Linked DNA regions of Homo sapiens: region 2 is linked to region 1. The links are contacts of gene promoters, found by promoter capture Hi-C in human tissues and cell types (Jung and others, 2019). All regions are on one chromosome and are shown on one strand. Each heading gives the region's core, a stretch centred on a gene start or on the middle of the fragment in contact. The rest is flanking DNA. Distances are from core to core; before and after follow the strand shown.

The links. Contacts are between HindIII fragments. The study calls those that stand out against the background at their distance.
Region 2: a contact is called between a fragment that was not itself captured here and the fragment with the promoter of WASF3 in region 1, in 2 of the 25 tissues and cell types used here (aorta and dorsolateral prefrontal cortex).

The regions. Positions count from the first base shown.
Region 1 is chr13:26,554,191-26,559,164 of GRCh38, forward strand. WASF3 (WASP family member 3) reads left to right here and starts at 3,493. Exons shown (of 10, transcript NM_006646.6): 1 at 3,493-3,629. RefSeq lists silencers at 3,067-3,126, 3,387-3,596. The HindIII fragment of the contact is 5,812 bases long and covers 1-4,545 here.
Region 2 is chr13:26,722,700-26,727,902 of GRCh38, forward strand. No RefSeq gene overlaps it. Among named protein-coding and RNA genes, the nearest start is that of GPR12, 35 kb to the right of the region's middle. The HindIII fragment of the contact is 4,497 bases long and covers 978-5,203 here.

The DNA of each region.
Region 1 (4,974 bases), core at 2,243-4,742:
AGCACAGCTCACTGCAGCCTCCAACTCCTAGGCTGAAGCGACACTCCTGCCTTAGCCTCCTTCTGAGTGGCTGGGACTACAGGCATATGCCACCACTCTTGGCTAATTCTTTTAGTTTTTGCAAAGATGGGAATCTCACTATATTGCCCAGGCTGGTCTCAAATTCCTGACCTCAAGCAAGTCTCCTGCCTTGGCCTCCGAAAGTGCTGGGATTACAGGTGTGAGCCACTGCACATAGCCCAAAAACTTCTTAAAAGGTACAATGATAAAGAACTTTTAAAAAAGATTTACCAATAGTTGAAGGACAATAGAATTTGTGACTGCAATAAAGGTCCATAAATACAGCAAAGGTGACCTTGCTTAAAAAATTTTAAGAAACGAAACTTTCTTTTTATTCTGTTAACTATGGTTCCTACTGCCTTTTCCAGAATGAATATACTTAGAATCATACAGTCTGTAGCCTTCTCAGACTGACTTTTCTCATTTAGCTATATGCATTTAAGTTTCCTCCATGTCTTTGTATGGCTTGATAGCTCATTTCTTTTTATCATGAAATAACATTCAATTGTATGGATGTACTGCAATTTGTTTATTCATTCACCTTGTGAGGGACATCTTTGATTCTTCCAGGGTCTCGTGATTATGAATAAACATTCGGGTACAAGTTTTTGTGTGGGCATGTTTTCAGCACAATTGGGTAAATACCTAGGAGTGTGATGGCTGGACTGAATTGTGAGACTATGCTTAGCTTTGTGAGAAACTGCCAGACTGTCTTCCAAAGTGGTCGTACCATTTTGCATTCCCATCGGCAATGGATGGGCATTCCTGTTGTTTTGTATCCTTGCCAGTATTTGGTATCCTTAGGTTTTTTGTTGTTGTTGCCGTTAGCTTTTTTATTTTAGCCATCCTAGTAGGTATGTCATAGTATTTCATTTTTGTTTTAATTTGCAATTCCTTAATGACACATGATATTGAGCATGTTTATTTGCCATCTGTGTATTGTCAACTCCACTTTAGGGAGGTGTCTGTTTAGATCTTTTGCTCACTTGAAAATTGGATTGTTTTTTAATTGACACCTGAGTGGCCTTTTTAAAAAAGTGGGTCTTATGAATAAATAGAGTGAGGGCTCAATCATGAATTCATTTATTCAGCAACTACATCAGGTACTGCCACTCTCATACCCAAGGTCTGCATTCCTCTTTTCCATTACTAACAAAACTCTAATATTCCTCCAGCCAATGCCCCAACTTTAAATACTTAGCATTTCAGACTCCTTTGCAGCTAAAGGTGGTCATGTGACATGTGGCTGGCCAATAAAATGCAAGCAGAAGGTGCTGGGTAAAGCTTCCCAGGAAGATGCAGACCCAACTGGGCATGCACCTCTTTGATCTTTTGCCCTTTACCCATCCCCCTACCATTTTCCTCAATGTGATGCAATGCTTACAAGGGAAGCAGGCATCCTGTGAGGATGAAGACAGAGATCACATGACAAGGATAGCAGAGACAATGGCTAGAAAGAGCCTGAGACACAACGACACCATAGAAGAGATATTACAGAAGCCCTGTGGCTGTCTCCAGGTTTCTGGTTTTGTGATAAGAAGCACTCCTATTTAGTAGGCACTTTTAGTCAAGATTCTGTTACAGGTCACCAATTCACTCCCTGATGCAGCAACATTTTATTAAGGATGAGGCACTTATTAGCGGTGGGCTCTAATCCTCTAACAAGACTGCTCTAAGCAGTTTTTATTTAAAGGACTGGTTCACACAAGACCATATTTGAAATAATTTATTTGTACCATGAACCACAACACTAGGAATAGAATCATATTTACCACATGCTCAGCACTGTACTAGGCATTATAAAAGGAGGAAAGAGGACTGTAAAATAAGGGCCTTATCCTCATGGAACTGATGATCTAATTAGAGAGGTAAGACTGACCTATATGAAACAAACCTGAACACTTTGGGATGATGTGTTTAAGGGCTAACAGTGAGTGCAAACTAAGTGTAGCAGCGGTTTATAAGGCTGGGGTCACCGAAGAGGGAAGCAGCCAGGGAAATATGATTAGCAACCTTGAAAACACTCTGGGTATCTATACTTTCATATTTTTGAGTTCTAAATTAATGACCTAAACATAGACATGGAAGCCATTCCCCTGGGTAAGTGAAGATGAAATGAAGGAAAGTCATTTTAATTTGAATGCCAATTTAGCTTTCAATTCAGCAGACATTTGTCACTCTAGTATCAATATTTAAAATACTGGGTCACTGTAATTATTCACCAAAATCCTGTTTACCTTGTTAATTACCAGCAATTTTTTAAAATGATGGCACTTTATGGAAACTGAATATACGTCATCTTTAAAAAGAGCTTTTAAAATCCCTCCTTTGGAAGTAATGCAGGTTAATAGATTAGACATTTTATGAAGAGGGCTGCATGATTTTTCTACTGCATTTCTGGTGTTGCAAACTTTGGTGAAATTATTAACTGCTATTCATTTTTTCCAACTTTTAGTTGTCTCTAGCTAGATGTTGATCATTATTACACATCTGTAAAGAAAAGAGCAAACCAACTTGAATTAGTGTTTCTTGAACTATTCATTAGAATTTAAAATTTTTTCCTAAAAGTTTTTCAATTTAGTGATCCTATTGGTAAATAAAAAGAATAAAGGCATGCAAATTAAAATAAAGGTAACATTTCTATTAGATGTTTTTAAACCCCTTTCCTTTGTGACCTAGCTTTTCTATCTTGGCTTTTCTATCTTTTCTTCTCTTCCTTTCCTTTCCTCCTTTCTTTTTCTTAAGTTTGTTTATGCCTCAGTCATCTGGTCGCACGTGGCTATGTTCCACTGTGGCAGGGCTTAGCTGGCAGTTTCAGGGATATCTTAGTTTTAATAAGTATTGTGGATTTCCTCACATCTAGGGTGGAGAGAGATTGGTTATAGGGTGATAAAAACAGAAGAATCTGTGTTGAAGGAGATGGGAAGATTTTAAGAATGCTAACGAATTTGAGCAGGGCATAAAACCAACCCATGAACAGGGCTACAGTCCTCTCAGGGTTGCCTGAAGCCTCAGCCCTGGAGGACGTCTGACACCTTACAGGTAGAGGACCTCTGTGCAGGAGCCCTCAACACCCAGGGAGGATTAGGATATAAGCGCAAACTCAAAGGTACTGTAATGGGCACCTAGCAATCAGAGGTGATACAAGGGTCTCTTGGCCCGAAGTATCCCCACCTCTCCTCGCTGGAAAGGACGCTGCCTAAGCCTCATCCCGAGCTGGGGGCGGAGGACCAAGGGTGAGAGCCACCGCCTCCGCAATCCCCCGCCCCTCGGCACCGTCGCTCAGCGCGCTCGCCGGCTCCCTATTGGCCGAGGCACTCGCCAATCCTGGTGAAGCGGCCCCGTGAGTTGGCCCTGGTTGGTGGAGCCGGCACTGAGCCCCCCTCCTGCTCCGGCCGAGCCCCCCCGCCGGGAGGGGGCGTGGCCGCGGCCGTGGACGGGCCGGAGGCGGCGTCGCTCGCGCCGCTGCGTGCGGTGTGGTGCGAGGCGGGTGCGCCGGGCGGCCGCGGCGCGGCGGGACCATGGAGCTCAGAGCGCAGCCCCGGCGCCGGCGGCGGGACCGCGGACCGGTGAGTGAGGGCTGCGGTCGCCCCGGCTCTCCGCTGTAGGCTGCTGTGGCCCTCTCGGCTCCGGGCCGGGCGGCTGTCGGGGGAGGGGCGGCCCCACGGCGAACTGAAGTTGCTGCATCGCCGCGCGCTCCGGCCGGGCGGCGGGGCCCACTGCGGGCTGCGGCGCCGCCTCGCGCCTATCCCTGCAGCCCGGCCGCATTCTCCCGGCCGGCTCCCGCGCTGGCAGGGGCTTCTCGCCGTCACGGCGCGGCCAGGCGGCCCTTCTCTCCCGCGCCTCCGGGCCTCCGGCCCTTTGCCGTCCGGTGCGCGCTCCCTGGACTCGGGACAGCCACCCGCCCTCCCCGCCGTAAGTGGCGCCCGGGCCTCCGCTCGCGCCCCACGCACGACGCCCCGGGCCGCTCCGCGTCCGGGACCTTCGCATCCGTTCAGTGTCTGCGCGCCCTCGCTGGTTCTGGTCCAGCTCCGCGTGCCCCCCGGCCCCATTCGGCCCTCGCCGCCCTGGCCTGTGCCCTCTTGGTGCCCGCGTGCGTGTTGGTTGCGGGCGTCCTCTCCCTCGAGGCTGCGGTGCCGCGTGGCTCCCGGCCTCGGAGACCAGGCCGGACTCTTGGAGTGCAGGGGAGGAGGTGGGGCGGCCCGCGAGTGCGGGGGACCGCGCGCACGGAGCCGCGGCGCGCGGGGTATCATCCCCGGGGGTCTTTACCCGCGCGCCTGGGCTTTAGCGAGGGCAGAAGCTTCCTCTCAGTTTGTGGTGCTGACGTGCAATGGCGATTGCTTCTTGATTTGGCCCCTCTGCAAGGGAGAGTTCCCTGGTGGAGACGAGAGTTCTTAATTATTCAGAAACTATGTGATGGGCTTAGGGATCAATGGGAGCATCATAGGAATTCTTTCTCATTTTAAGGTTAATTTTTAAATTAGCGGTTTACTTCCAGCAACAGTCTCGAGTTTTCAAAAACTGAAAATTAAAAAGACTACTTTTCGCAGTTCTTCAAATTAAATGCATAGCAGAACATGGTATTTTAAGATTCAGAGTCTACTTTTTATAAGGGGGAGAGGATAGCTATTTGAAATATTTTGCATCTTAAAAATTAGGTTTATCTAAAGCTTAAAATGCGACTCTATCAAAACTAAGTTCAAAGTATTGTAATTGACTAATCTTTCTATTGTCTCTAGGGCAAATTCTATTGCTTCTTTTTATATGTGCTTTACCCAACTCTCCTTTTCTAGCAGTTAAACAATGCAGTGGTTCTTTAAAGCTAGTTCTTTTATCTGCTTGAGAGGTTAAACAAACGAAAGCTGGGTTTGACCTTTCCCAAAGGCATTCTCATTGTGTCCTCTCCAGCTCCCT
Region 2 (5,203 bases), core at 1,976-4,475, 170 kb after region 1:
CGAACTGTGCTTTGTGAACCTTCGTTTTCTACTGCTTCAAGAAATGACAGCTTGGCCAGATTCCATATCACTTCACCAACTTTCTTTTTTTAAATTCTTAATAGAATTTTGAAAAGAGTATTTTTAGGTTTTCAGAAAAATTGCACAGAAAGTACAAAGAATTCCCATATACACTCTCTGCACCCACACAGTTTCCCTGTGATTAACATCTTGCAAGTGTGATACATTTGTTACAATTGAGGAGCCAATATTGATGAATTATTATTAACCAGAGTTAAGAGTTTTCATAGGTTTCACTCTTGGGGTTTTACATTTTATGGGTCGTGGCAAACACATAATGACAAGTATCCACCATTATAGTGTACAGAACAGCCTCACTGCCCTAAAAATCCCCTGTTCTCCCTCTCCCTCTCCCTCTCCCTCTCCCTCTCGGTCTCCCTCTCCCCACGGTCTGCCTCTCCCCACGGTCTCCCTCTCCCTCTCTTTCCACGGTCTCCCTCTGATGCCGAGCCAAAGCTGGACTGTACTGCTGCCATCTCGGCTCACTGCAACCTCCCTGCCTGATTCTCCTGTCTCAGCCTGCCGAGTGCCTGCGATCCGCCACGCCTGACTGGTTTTCCTATTTTTTTGGTGGAGACGGGGTTTCGCTGTGTTGGCCGGGCTGGTCTCCAGCTCCTAACCGCGAGTGATCCGCCAGCCTCGGCCTCCGGAGGTGCCGGGATTGCAGACGGTATCTGGTTCACTCAGTGCTCGATGGTGCCCAGGCTGGAGTGCAGTGGCGTGATCTCGGCTCGCTACAACCTCCACCTCCCAGCCGCCTGCCTTGGCCTCCCAAAGTGCCCAGAGTGCAGCCTCTGCCCGGCCGCCACCCCGTCTAGGAAGTGAGGAGCGTCTCTGCCTGGCCGCCCATCGTCTGGGATGTGAGGAGCCCCTCTGCCTGGCTGCCCAGTCTGGAAAGTGAGGAGCGTCTCTGCCCGGCCGCCATCCCATCTAGGAAGTGAGGAGCGCCTCTTCCCGGCCGCCATCCCATCTAGGAAGTGAGGAGCATCTCTGCCCGGCCGCCCATCGTCTGAGATGTGGGGAGCGCCTTTGCCCCGCCGCCCCGTCTGGTATGTGGGGAGCGCCTCTGCCCGGCCGCGACCCCGTCTGGGAGGTGAGGAGCGTCTCTGCCCAGCCGCCCCATCTGAGAAGGGAGGAGACCCTCCACCTGGCAACCGCCCCGTCTGAGAAGTGAGGAGCCCCTCCGCCCGGCAGCCACCCCGTCTGGGAAGTGAGGAGCGTCTCCGCCCGGCAGCCGCCCCGTCCGGGAGGGAGGTGGGGGGGTCAGCCCCCCGCCCGGCCAGCCGCCCCGTCAGGGAGGTGAGGGGCGCCTCTGCCCAGCCATCCCTACTGGGAAGTGAGGAGCCCCTCTGCCCGGCCAGCCGCTCCGTCCGGGAGGGAGGTAGGGGGTCAGCCCCCCGCCCGGCCAGCCGCCCCGTCCGGGAGGGAGGTGGGGGGGGTCAGCCCCCCGCCCGGCCAGCCGCCCCGTCCGGGAGGTGAGGGGCGCCTCTGCCCGGCCACCCCTTCTGGGAAGTGAGGAGCCCCTCTGCCCGGCCACCACCCCGTCTGGGAGGTGTGCCCAACAGCTCATTGAGAACGGGCCATGATGACAATGGCGGTTTTGTGGAATAGAAAGCGGGGAAAGGTGGGGAAAAGATTGAGAAATCGGATGGTTGCCGTGTCTGTGTGGAAAGAAGTAGACATGGGAGACTTTTCATTTTGTTCTGTACTAAGAAAAATTCTTCTGCCTTGGGATCCTGTTGATCTGTGACCTTACCCCCCAACCCTGTGCTCTCTGAAACATGTGCTGTGTCCACTCAGGGTTAAATGGATTAAGGGCGGTGCAAGATGTGCTTTGTTAAACAGATGCTTGAAGGCAGCATGCTCCTTAAGAGTCATCACCACTCCCTAATCTCAAGTACCCAGGGACACAAACACTGCGGAAGGCCTCAGGGTCCTCTGCCTAGGAAAACCAGAGACCTTTGTTCACTTGTTTATCTGCTGACCTTCCCTCCACTATTGTCCTATGACCCTGCCAAATCCCCCTCTGTGAGAAACACCCAAGAATGATCAATTAAAAAAAAAAAAATCCCCTGTTCTCCACCTATGCATTCCTCCCTCCCACCAACCCCTGGTAACCATCGAACTTTTTTACTGTCTCCATAGTTTTGCCTTTTCCAGAATGTGTTATAGTTGGAATCATTCAGGTTGGCTTCTTTCCCTTAGCAATATGCTTTTCAGGTTCTTCCTGAAAAGAGAAAGCCACTATGTCTTCTGGTAGCTTGATTGCTCATTTTTTTAAATTGATGAATACTATTTAATTGTCTGGTTGTATCACCATTTGCTTATCATTCACCTACTGAAAAACATCTTGGTTGCTTTCAGTTTGGTGTAATTATTAATAAAGCTACTATAAATATTTGTGTGCAGGTTTCTGTAAAGACATAGGTTTTCAACTGAATTGGGTTAATATCTAGGAGCACAATTGCTGGATCATATAAGATTATGTTTAACATTGCGAGAAACTTCCAAACTGTCTTCTAAAGTGGTTGTCCCATTTTGCATCCTTACCAGCTGTGAATGTTAATTCCTGTTGCCCCATATCCTCACTAGCATTTGGTGATGTCAGTGTTCTGGATTAAGGCCATTCTAATAGATGTGTAGTGGTATCTTATTTTAATTTGCAATTCTCTTATGGTGTGATGTTGAACATCTTTTCATATGCTTATTTGCCATCTGTGTATCTCCTTTGGTGAGATGTCTGCTCATGTCCTTTGCCCATTTTTAAACTGAGTTGTTTCCTATTGTTAAGTTTTGATGGTTCCTTGCATATTTTGGACACAGGTGCTTGTCTTCTCAGTCACATACAGTGTCTCTTGCAGAACAGAAGTTTTTAATTTTTGTTGTTGTTGTTGTTGTTGAGATGGAGTCTCACTCTGTCAGCCAAGCTAAGGCGCAGTGGCATGATCTTGGCTCACTGCAGCCTCTGCCTCCTGGGTTCAAGTGATTCTCCTGCCTCAGCCTCCCAAGTAGGTGGGACTACAGGCATGCACCACAACATCTGATTACTTTTTGTATTTTTAGTAGGGACGGGGTCTCACCATGTTAACCAGGCTGGTCTCAAACTCCTGACCTCAAGTGATCTGGCCTCCTCGGCCTCCCAAATTGCTGGGATTACAGGTGTGAGCCACTGCTCCCAGCCAGAAGTTTTTAATTTTAATGAAGTCCAACTTAACAATTTTTTTCTTTCATGGATTATGCTTTTGGTGATGTATCTAAAAGCTTACCACCAAGTCTAAGATTACCTAGATTTTCTCCTTTGGTATCCCACAGATGTTTTGTGTTTTGCATTTAGGTCTATGATTCCCTTTGAGTTAATTTTTGTGAGGTTCTGTGTCTAGATTCATTCTTTTGCCTGTGGGTGTCTAGTTGCTCCAGAGCCAATTGTTCAAAAGACTGTCTTTGCTCCATGGAACTGCCTTTGCTCCTTTGTCAAATGTCAGTTGACTCTGTTTGTGTGGACCTATTTCTGGGCTATGTTGAACGCCCGTTTCCTGACATGTAGGGAAATGACAATTTAGATTCCACTTTGCTCTTAAACAGTCTCACTTCAGTAGATATTTAACCCCGTTCTTGTTTGTTTATTGGTTTTGAAGCCCCTCCCTTCTCCCCCCACCATAGAGGCTACACCTGTGTAGTGATTTTGAGTGTGGTGGGAAAAGGTGGTGTGCTTTTTTGTTTTGAACCTTTTAATGAAGCCCAGTGAACATACAGAAAATTGCAGAAATTGAAATTAAATGTTTTTCTCAAACAACACATTTGTGTAACTAACACTCACATGGAGGAATGGCACAGTACCAAGGCCCCAGAAACCCCTTCGCCTCCTTTCCAGCCACTGCCTCCTGCCCTCAGGGCAGCCACGATCCTAATTTCCAACAGCTCAGACTAGTTCTACCTGGGTTTGCTGTTTTTATAAATATAATTACACGGTATATGTATTCTTGTGTCTAGCTTTTCTCAACATTATGTTTGTTGCTTATTTTTATTGCTATAGAGCAGGGCGTCCAATCTTTTGGCTTCCCCGGGCCACAGTCGAAGAAGAAGAATTGTCTGGGGCCACATGTAGAATACACTGATGCTAACAATAGCTGATGAGCTAAAAATAAATTGGAAAGAAAATCTCATAATATTTTAAGAAAGTTGACGAATTTGTGTTGGGCCGCATTCAAAGCCGTCCTGGGCCTCATGCGGCCTGGACAAGCTTGCTGTAGAGTATTGTAGGAGTCAGAAAACTTTATAAAGGGCCAAATAATGAATAGTTTAGGTTTTGCAAGCCACATGTGATCTTTGTCACATTTTCTTCCTCCTCCTCCTCCTCCTCTTCTTGTTCTCTTCTGTGAGGTTCAGAGATTAGTTACAACACTTTGAAAATACAAAAATGATTCTTAACTCTCAAGCTGTACAAAAACAGGCAATGAGCTGTAGCTTGCTAATCCCTAGAGTATTCCATCCTGCAAATATGGTTTATTTATCCACTGTACTCTTGGTGTGAATTTGGGTAGCGTCCCCTTTGGGGCTACTGTGAGTAGAGCTGCTATAAACATTCTGTTGCATGTCTTGTGTGTATTGGCTGTATTACTTGGGATGGGATTACTGGGTCACAGAATGTGCGTATTCCAGCTTTAGAAGGTATTCCAAGCAGTTTTCCAAAATTGTAACACTCTTGTAAGCAGCACATGAACATTCTGGTTGCTCCACGCTCTCACCAGGATTTTCCATCCTTTCCAGTGGGCCAGTTTTGTTGGGTGTATAGTGCTTTTTCATTATGGCTTTAATTTGCATTTCACCTTAATTTCCATTTTTCTAGGTTGAACACTGTTAAAATATGCTTGTTGTCCATTTGGATATCCTTTATGCAAAGACTTTTGCCCATTTTTTAATAACTTGCCTTTTTCTTATAGTTCCAGACTTTTTTTTTGTTTCCCTGAGAGCCTGATGCCAGCAACCATTCCCAGAGCCAATCTCTGTCTTTGTTAAGCAGGGTAGTTAGTCACAAGCAACAGAAACCAGTCTGGTTGGTCCTGTGTTAGTTCAAGGTGAAGGGGGAGATTTATTATAAGGCATTGACTCATGAAATTATGGAGGATGAGAAGTCTCAAGGTGT